3 separate regions of the Homo sapiens genome follow, and all the other regions are linked to region 3. The links are contacts of gene promoters, found by promoter capture Hi-C in human tissues and cell types (Jung and others, 2019). All regions are on one chromosome and are shown on one strand. The core of a region is centred on a gene start or on the middle of the fragment in contact, and the rest is flanking DNA. Distances in the headings are between cores, read along the strand shown.

Evidence for each region. The method cuts DNA at HindIII sites, captures the fragments that hold promoters and counts their contacts. A contact is called where the count stands out against the background at its distance.
Region 1: a fragment that was not itself captured here is called in contact with the fragment with the promoter of SETMAR in region 3 in 1 of the 25 tissues and cell types used here (heart left ventricle).
Region 2: a fragment that was not itself captured here is called in contact with the fragment with the promoter of SETMAR in region 3 in 1 of the 25 tissues and cell types used here (H1 embryonic stem cells).

What each region holds. Positions count from the first base shown.
Region 1 is chr3:4,616,572-4,619,636 of GRCh38, reverse strand. The region is part of intron 4 of ITPR1 (inositol 1,4,5-trisphosphate receptor type 1); the gene reads right to left. Among named protein-coding and RNA genes, the nearest start is that of ITPR1, 120 kb to the right of the region's middle. The HindIII fragment of the contact is 5,753 bases long and covers 1-3,065 here.
Region 2 is chr3:4,681,527-4,684,484 of GRCh38, reverse strand. ITPR1 (inositol 1,4,5-trisphosphate receptor type 1) reads right to left here. Exons shown (of 62, transcript NM_001378452.1): 27 at 934-1,099; 28 at 687-857; 29 at 139-204. Among named protein-coding and RNA genes, the nearest start is that of EGOT, 69 kb to the left of the region's middle. The HindIII fragment of the contact is 4,756 bases long and covers 1-2,958 here.
Region 3 is chr3:4,301,715-4,304,921 of GRCh38, reverse strand. SETMAR (SET and mariner transposase domain methyltransferase) reads right to left here and starts at 1,553. Exons shown (of 3, transcript NM_006515.4): 1 at 1,396-1,553. The coding sequence starts at 1,551. It also overlaps a transcript of SUMF1 not described here. RefSeq lists enhancers at 1,116-1,185, 1,214-1,956 and a silencer at 1,276-1,615. The HindIII fragment of the contact is 5,892 bases long and covers 1-3,207 here.

The DNA of each region.
Region 1 (3,065 bases), core at 502-3,001, 310 kb before region 3:
GGAGAGCAGAGGAGAGCAGGGGAGGGCAGAGGAGAGCAGGGGAGGGCAGGGGAAGGGGGAAGGGGAAAGGGCAGGGGAAGGGGGAAAGGGCGGCAGAAGGGGATGGAAGTTGGAGAAGGGGCAGAAGGAGAGGAAAGGAGAGAGGGAGGAGTGAGGAGAGAGGTAGGTAAGGAAAGAAGAAAGGAGGAAAGGAAAGGAAGGAAAGGGGGCAAAAGAAAGAATAAGAAAGGAAAGTAACTTACAGAACAATCCATAGGTCCAATACAAGAGGAAATTCAGGAAAAGAAACTGAAGGTATGGAAACAATCAAAGAAATATACAAGATAATATCCTAGAACTGGAGATGACTCCCCAGGTTGAAAGAACCCAGTAATTCCCCAGCATAAGAAAATACAGACCCATACATGTCATTGCAAAATTTCAGACTAATGGGACAAGGAGAAGATCCTTAAGGCTTCCAGCAAGAAAAAAGAAGGCTCAAAGAAAAGAAGAGGAATAAGAATAACATCAGACATCTCACAGCAACCCTGGAAGCTCAAATATAACACAGCAGTATCTTAAAAACACTGACTAAAAAGAATTCTCAATCTAGAATTCTGAACTGTATCGAAATAACAACAAGGTATGAAAGTACAATAAAGTCAAGTCTAAAATCAGGAAGCTGCTGGAGGTTGTACTCCACCAAAAAATGGAGAGAACAGTTTTTAAATAGTTGTGTGGTTGTTTATCAAAGAGGTTGCCCTGGCCCAGCTCAAATGCCAACCCTTGTTCTATAGTCGAGACAGTATGCTTAATATGCTTAATGCTAGTCATCCATCCCACAGACAGATGTGAGAAAGAAAGTCCCACAGTGACACCATGTAGGGCATGTCACTGCTACAACCTGGAGCAGAGGCAAAGTGCTCCAGGGATAGAGGACGGTGGTGAGGAACAGGAGGGTCAGATCATCCGATGGATCCGGCACATGGAAAACATGCTGAGGAATTGGAGAGAGGGAAGACTCGGTAAACGCTACAAAAGAGCTATGCAAATAAAGAAAAATAAGACAATCACTAACTCTAGGGGAAGGTTGCATATGAAAATTCCAATATGTCTTTGGCTCATTAGCGAACAATATTTACATAGTCATAAAAATATTAAGACTGAATATTAGTTTAGCCAGAAAACTGGGACATAACTCTAGTGGGAGGATGGAGGAGGAACAGAGAAGTGTCACAAAGCTAACAATAACAGTAAGTTGACAAATGTTATTTAAAATACATTCATCTACAGACATCAAGAGACACACATCATCTAGAAACACAGTGGTAAATATCAGAAGAAAATGTTAAAATATTTGAAATTGTTGCCTCTGGAAAGTGAGAAGGCGTGAGGTGTCATACTGTTATGTTTATCAGTATTTGACTTTTTTGTGGTGAAATTCACATAATATAAAATTAACCATTTTAAAGTGACCAATTCAGTGGCATTTACTACAGTCACAATGTTGTAAAACCATCGTCTTTATCTAGTTCCAAAACATTTCATCATCCCCAAAAGGAAACTCTGTACCTATTAAGCAGTTAATTACCCCCCACCTCCTCAACACCCTATATTTGACTTTTTAAAGGATGTGCATATATCAAATAAAACTTTTTTTTTTTTTTTTGAGATACGCACGGTCTCACTTTGTTGCCCAGGCTGGAGTTCAGTGGCACCATCATTGCTCACTGCAGCCTCAACCTCCAAGACTCAGGTGATCCTCCCACCTCAACCTCTCAGGGAGTTGGGACTACAGGTGTAAGCCTGTAAGCCTTTTTTTTTTTTGCATTTTTTAATAGAAATAAGGTTTCGCCATGTTGCCCAGGCTGGTCTTAAATGCCTGTGCTCAAGCGATTTATCCACCTTGGCCTCCCAAAGTGCTGGGATTATAGGCATGTGCCACCAAGCCCAGCCAATATTTCAATTTTTTTAACCACCTTTTGGTACTCAATTGGTGTTCAGTTTTTCACAACTACAGACTGACAAGAAACAACAAAATCTGGATCTTATGATTTGAATGTTTGTCTCCTCCAAAACTCATGCTGACATTTAATTGTCAATGTAATGGTATTGGGATGTGGAGCCTTGAAGAGGTGATTAGAGGGCTTCACTATCATGAGTGGGCTTAATGCCTCAACACAAGAGCTTTTGGGGTTGGGCAGGTCTCTCTCTTGGCTCTTTTGTCCTTCTGCCCTATGAAGAACAGCCATCCTCCCCTCCACAGGATGCAGTATTTGAAATACCATCTTGAGAGCAGAGACCAGGCCATCACCAGACACCAAAACCTGCTGGCACCTTGACATTGGACTTCCCAGCCTCCAGAACTGTGAGCCAACAAGTTTCTGCTCATTATAAATTATCCAGTCTGTGGTATCCTGTTATACCAGCACAAATAGACTAAGACACTGGAAAATGCCAAGTATCAATGGGGACAGAGAAATCTTCCTACACTGCTGATGAATGCTCACACTGGGGCCACTACTGTGAGTGGCAACTGGTATAAGTCAAAGTAAGTACATATGTATAACCTATAACATGTAATCCAGCCATTCTGCTATAGGGCACACATTCCAAAGAAATTCTCACATAGGTTCTCTGATCTCACTACGTCCACAAGCAGAAGGACGCTGTAGGGAAGAGAGTGATGAGAAGGCACACCGACTCTTCACTGCTTTGGCCTGGAGGCAACGCAACACTCGCACTCACATGTCTTCAGTGATAATGAAATCACAAGACCCCACCATGATGCAGACAAGCTAAGAAATGAAGTTTAGCTGTGCCCAGGAAGAAGATAGGAGTTTCCCGTGCATCCAGCCCATCTCTGCTACACCCTGTCCTTGAGGTCAATAAATAATCTATTTCATTCTTTCTTATTACCCCACACCCCAGGCAACACTCTGGCTGGAGTTGCAGCAATTAAACATAGTCCCTTCTCTTTCAGAATCTGAACTCTTCAAAACCATCTCATTGACCAAAAAGACAATCCACGAGCTACCATTGTTTTAAAAATTCTTCATTCAGCCAGCATATATAAATGCAATTTT
Region 2 (2,958 bases), core at 134-2,633, 380 kb before region 3:
CTGAGCTCTACTTTCTCCCTGTTAAACCACATGAAGAAAAAAGCTCAAATGTGTGTACCTTCAACTTGACTATCACAAACTAAAGCTCCTTAGAGAATTCATAAAGAAAGGAAAAATGGTGGTGGGGGAGGAGCTTACCTCTTTGACCACTCTGTAGTTGTAGCTGCTGGTGCTTTCATGCTTTTGTGGCTTGTTATTTCCCTCCTAGAAACCAAAGTGAACACAAGTGTGATCTGTACAACTCTTGGGCTACTGTCAGTTTTTTACAGTTAGCATCGACCTTTAGGAAAGAAAGGGAGTTCTATACTGTTTTACAATAGTCATGCTGGGCTTATGCCCCAGTCATCTACCTACTTGCTATGGGTTTCCTTGGGAAGGGATAGTAGTGGGCTGGGCCATGCCTAGAGAACAGGTCAATTCCCAAGTGGGTCTGTAAGGGAAACCTGGTGCTAATTCACTCAATATCGCAGTCTCTTCTACATGGTCCAAGGCTGCACAGGAGACATAGCTAAACTTTGATTCGTAGCTTATTTCCTAGGCAAACAGCTTGTGATCTTGGTGACTTAACAAGCAGATCTCTTGAAAATAAATCCTATCACATTTATACCTAAAACCAGAAGAGGATGCTCCCTAGTTTCGAGAAGCCCATCCATCCACTTTGGCAGCATAACTTGTGTTTCACTCACCTCCGTTTTCTTATGTTCATTTTCTCCAGATGCACCATCCATAGTCTCATCGGGGCCCTGCCCTTTGTACACCCAAAGCTCTGACTTTTCCACGATGGACCTCAGTTGATCCAAGTCTTGTTTGATCTGTTTGTAGTTGTCCACATCTTGGCTGGTAACCAGCAGTTGAACCTTAATGAACGCAATCCGTTAGGTGCACACAACAGCTTCTTGGACAGACAACACACACGTGGGTGACCTGAGCTACCTGTTTGAAGGCCTGGAGCACCTCCTGCCTCTGGCTGAAGTGCCGGAAGAGGAGCTGCAGGGCCCCTGACACCAGGGGTGGGTAGTCATGCATCGTCAAGTGGAGCAGGACACGGAGAAAGGTTCTGCCGCCGTGGTCATCCAAGTCCAGTGGGGTGTTCTCCTCACTAAAGGAGCACAAGGTGGGGAAAGGCCAAATGAATGACAAATGCCTCCTCTCACGCCCCTTGGGCCCAGATGCACCTAACCTAGTTGCATTTCTAGCACTGTGATCTCCAGACATGCAATTTCACTTTTCATTAGCTCCTTTAACAATACAGCCTTGCTTCATCTTCAACTATATTATGAGGTGAGGGGACAAGGAAGATGTCATATTAAAAGATAAGTCAAATTTTAAGCCAAAGTGACAAGACTAGCATTAGATTCTCAACATCTACATAGGGTGTTCTTCTGCTGGGCTTCGTCTGTGGTCTGAGAACTGCAAGAGGATGTGTTTCTCCTAAGTTATTAGTTTATGTATTTAGTTTTTAGAGATGAGGTCTTGCTATGTTGCCCAGGCTGAATTCAAACTCCTATGCTCAAATGATCCTCCTGCCTTAGCATACTGAGTAGCTGGGACTATAGGAATGCACTACCATGCCTGACTATATTTAAATATTAATAAGCATATCCTAGATCAAATGGCAGACTACTCCATAACTGAGCACTGCTAGTCAATTATTGGGTCTGCACCTATATTGGGTTTAGAGTCAAATGAATGACAAATGGTGGAAACTTCCTGGTTGCTGGCTAATAAGAAAAGCACAGAGAAGACTTATAAATACTGTATTCATGCTATGTATTCCAAAAAGGTGTGAAGGTTTCAATGCTGTTCACTATGAGGAAAATGGCGGGAGAGCTGAGTGATCACACAGCACATGGAACCTGTATTATGCTAAACTCACAATACCATGTTTAAGTTTCAGAAAAACATCTTCCATCATAGTACATAATGTTGCTAATTCAAATTTCACAGGTTTTATATTAAGCATTGAGGTAGACTATTAACACTGGTGGGCCCCAACAGAGTGTTCAAACCCTTATGTAGTCCCCTCCCACACTGACAATGAGCTTGGCCATGGGATTTGCTTGAACAATAAGATATTAGGAGATGCAATGCAAGCAGAGGCCCAATTAGCACTTGCATACTGTTGGCTTGTCCTCTTAGAACATTTGCTTTTTGAGTCAGCCACCGTGCTGTAAAGAAGCCCAAGCTATCCACATGGACAGAGAGAGAAAGAAGTTCTGGCCTTGCAGGCATCTCTGCTATAGTGCCAGAAATGTGAATAATCCAACTTGGAGGTGCCAGCCCCAGTTACCACCTCACTACAGTATGACAGACCCAACAGTGACCACCAGCAGAAGAACCATCCAGCTTAATCAAGCCACAGGACTGTAAGAAGTATTAATAAAATGGTGGTGGTTTGAATCCTTAAGTTTTTTGGAGTAATATGTTATAAAGCAATAATCAAACCAAGTGTGCTAATTATAAGAACTATGTGCATATGGTGTTTATACCAAATTTTATACTTGGAGGTATAAGAGTTCCATAATTATAATAATGTCTTAAGTCAAAATTGACCAGTGCGGTTTTTTTTTAAAGGGGTTCATACATTAATATTAGGAACAATGAAAGACCAGATTTTGCTTTCTTTGTTGCATAGCCTGTAAGGAGCTCAGGGATAAAATTGTAGCCCAGCAGCAGCAGCAGGACATGATCTTACTAACTTCACTCTGTTTTGAGCCCCTCTCTCTTTCTATTCTTCTTTTGATTGCATTTCCTCACTATGTAAAAATAATCTTGTAATGTAGGTATTTTGAGAAATCTCCTTAAATCCTTTCTGTCCTAGGTGGGACACACACACACACACACACACACACACACACACTTTCTCTCTCTCTCTCTCTCACTCTCTCTCTCCTCCCAATCAAGCCAACCAAGTTAACTCTGACTTGAGTACTAACAGTTCCAAAGATAGCACCAAAA
Region 3 (3,207 bases), core at 304-2,803:
GTATTTGATTGACGTCTCCTCTCTCCCAAACATGTATAAAACCAGGCTGTGCCCTAACCACCTGGGACACATGTTCTCAGCATCTCCTGAGGGCTGTGTCACAGGCCATGGTCACTCATATTTGGCTCAGAATAAATCTCTTCAAATATTTTAGAGTTTGATTCTTTTCCTTGACATCTTTGAAAGCTGCTATTGAATCTCTTATCTTATCTGATCCTCACAAAAACCCCTAGGAAAAAGAAAGGGCAGATAGGGTTCATTGTTGATAATGGATGTTAAAGGGGCTATGCATTTTTAAATTATTATTTTCATTTTGCAGATGAAGAAACTCAGGCTCTGGGAAGTAGCTAAGATGTCTAAGCTCCGAACCATACTCTCCAACTTCCACGTCCAGCGCTCTTTCCACTTCAAAATCTTTGGTCATTCCTTATTCCTTGGGTAACGCTCAGGCCAAGGTCGGAGGGATAAGAAAGTCAGTAGAGGCTGGGAGCGTGGCTCATGCCTGTAATCCCAGCATTTTGGGAGGCCGAGGCGGGCGGATCACCTGAGGTTGGGAGTTCGAGACCAGCCTGACCAACATGGAGAAACCCTGTCTCTACTAAAAATACAAAAATTAGCCGGGCGTGGTGGCCCATGCCTGTAATCCCAGCTACTCGGGAGGCTGAGGCAGGAGAATCGCTTGAACCCGGGAGGTGGAGGTTGCGGTGGGCCGAGATCGCGCCAGTGCACTCCAGCCTGGGCGACAGAGCGAGACTCAGTCTCAAAAAGAAAAAGGAGAGTAGAAAGGGCTTTGAGGTAGTTAATAGAAGCAAACATTTACTGAGTTCTTACAGCAAACCGGAAAGTGTATTTTCCTTGCCATTTTCAAAGCACTCCGGAAGAGAGGTACTGTTCCACTGTACGCTGGAAGACTCTAAGGCTGAGCCACAGCTAATTTACACTCGCCCAAGAGCCCACAGCGTGAGGGAGACCACAGCTAAGGCTGACTCGAGGGGCTGTTTTTATGCACGACACCGGCTGCGATCCATTAATAGGCCCCACGGCTTATCCTACCTGTGAGAGACACCTGAGACCAGGGAGGTAAATGACTCCCCCCGTGATGCCTCCTTGAGTTCTGAGGACAGGACTGGACAAAAAGCCAGGTTCTCACAAGGCCTCCGGTTCTGCGCTTCAGGGAATGGACTGAAAAGGACAACACCCTTGCTAAGGTGATGCCGTGGGTCAACAGAAAAAGGCCCAGGCCGGGGCATGCACACCTATTCCCGCGCACCAACGGGTGCGCTGTAAGAGAAGACAAAAGGTCGCGACTGGGAGGCCGTCCCAGCGAGGCGGCTTGAGGAGACCACGTGGGGGAGCCGCGCGCCCGCCTCCCGCGCCGCCTGGCCCCGCCCCTACCTGGAAGGGCGCCGGCGCGGCCCCCGGGGGCCACGCGCCCACCGGCAAGTTTTCCTGGCCGCACGCGACATCCAGCTGCTCAGTCGGGGCCTCAGGCTTCTCCTTAAACTCCGCCATCCCACAAGGCCGTGTCGTCTTTGCCGCTTCCGCGAACATTTACCCGCCTCACGCAACGCCCACTACCCTGACAGTCCTGGGCCGCGCGGTGGATGCTGGGACTTGTGGTCCCGTGGCCCCACCGCCTCATGGGAATTGTAGTTCGTTTCTTCTCAGGAGTGGCCTGGAAGGCGCTTCCCTTCCTTGACTTTTTGGGTCTGGCTCCCGTTTTGATTTCAGCCAGAGGCACCACAGATAATTACAAAACCATGTAAGGTACGGACGAAACAAAGTGAGGTGCTTTAGTTTTTCCTGGGAGCATCAGAGAGGGGGCTTTCGAGGTGAGGTCATTTGTCCAGGTTTTTGAGGGCTCACTGCACGTTTGTGGAGTGGAGGCAGGGGTGCGTTCTAAACCGAGCGGGGAAACGCACACCAAGGTTTCTAAAGGTCTGCGGCTTGCCGGGAAGTTGACTGACATGTGATAGGGTTTGTGCCAAGGCGATAGCCTCACAGGGTGCCTTAAGGAATTTGTGTGGGGGCATGCTCACTCCCTGATGGAGGTATCCGTGCCCCTTTGCCTGTCCTTTTCCCTCCTCTCCATCCCTCTACCCTCACCCCTCCAAACCCCTGCCCTGCCAAAGGATTCTGATAGCCTCAAGACTGCTGAATCCGGTGGAGCATTTTCAACCTCACTGAAGCTCTCTGACATGATTGTCCTGCTTCTCCTTGAAACTGTAAACCAAAAATAAAATTCCAATCCTCCAAACCATCTGAAGGGACCCCTCCTCTCTGCCAAGGTTAACCTGAGAAAGTGGTTCAGGCCATGATGGGAAGGGGGGTCCAACATGCCTCATTATGCCCTTCTTCCTTTTGGAATTCAGGAAAAGCCAGCCAGCATCAACATCAACACACACCTTAAGTCTGATAAGAAACATTTACAATCTGTTCTCTGAAATTTACCTCTTGGAGGCTTCATCTCCACGATCAAATTTGGTATCCACAACCTCTTATTGCAACCCAGACATTCGTTTCTATTGATTTTAGGTCTTTAGATAATAACCAGTTGCCAATCAGAAAATCTTTAAATCTACCTATGACCTGGAAGCCACCCCTCACCCGCTTCTCGTTGTCTGCCTTTCCAGATCCAACCAATCTTACATGTATTGATTGATGTATTATGTCTCCCTAAAATGTGTGAGAGTAAGCTGTATCCCAACCACCTTGGGCACATGTCATCAGGACTGCCTGAGGCTATGTTGGGGGCGCATTCTTAAGCTTGGGAAAATAAACTTTCTAAATTGAGACCTGTCTCAGATAATTTTGGGTTCACAAACCCTTCTGACCTTGCAGCTTCTGAGGTCCCATTGGCCTAAATGTGTTTCCATCTTGCAGACCTTTCCTTGTTAGTATCCTCTTGTTGTTTTCCTGCCTGACTGTTTCTGAAAAGTGGGTGTGATTCAGGGTTCTGCCCTTGACCTTTTTCTTTGCTCCCCTTCCCTGAACTTTCTCATTAATAACATCCACTCCCATGGCTTCAAATATAAAGGATTAGGTCACCAGTCTCCAACCCAGATCAGACGTTTCTCCTCAAATCCAGTTACGCATATTCAGCTAATGATTGAGCATTTCTGTTTTCTGTCCTACAGGCTCCTCAAACTCAAAATAATCTGAATTGACTTCTTCTGCCAGTCTTGCTTTTTCTTCTTTAAAGTTAAC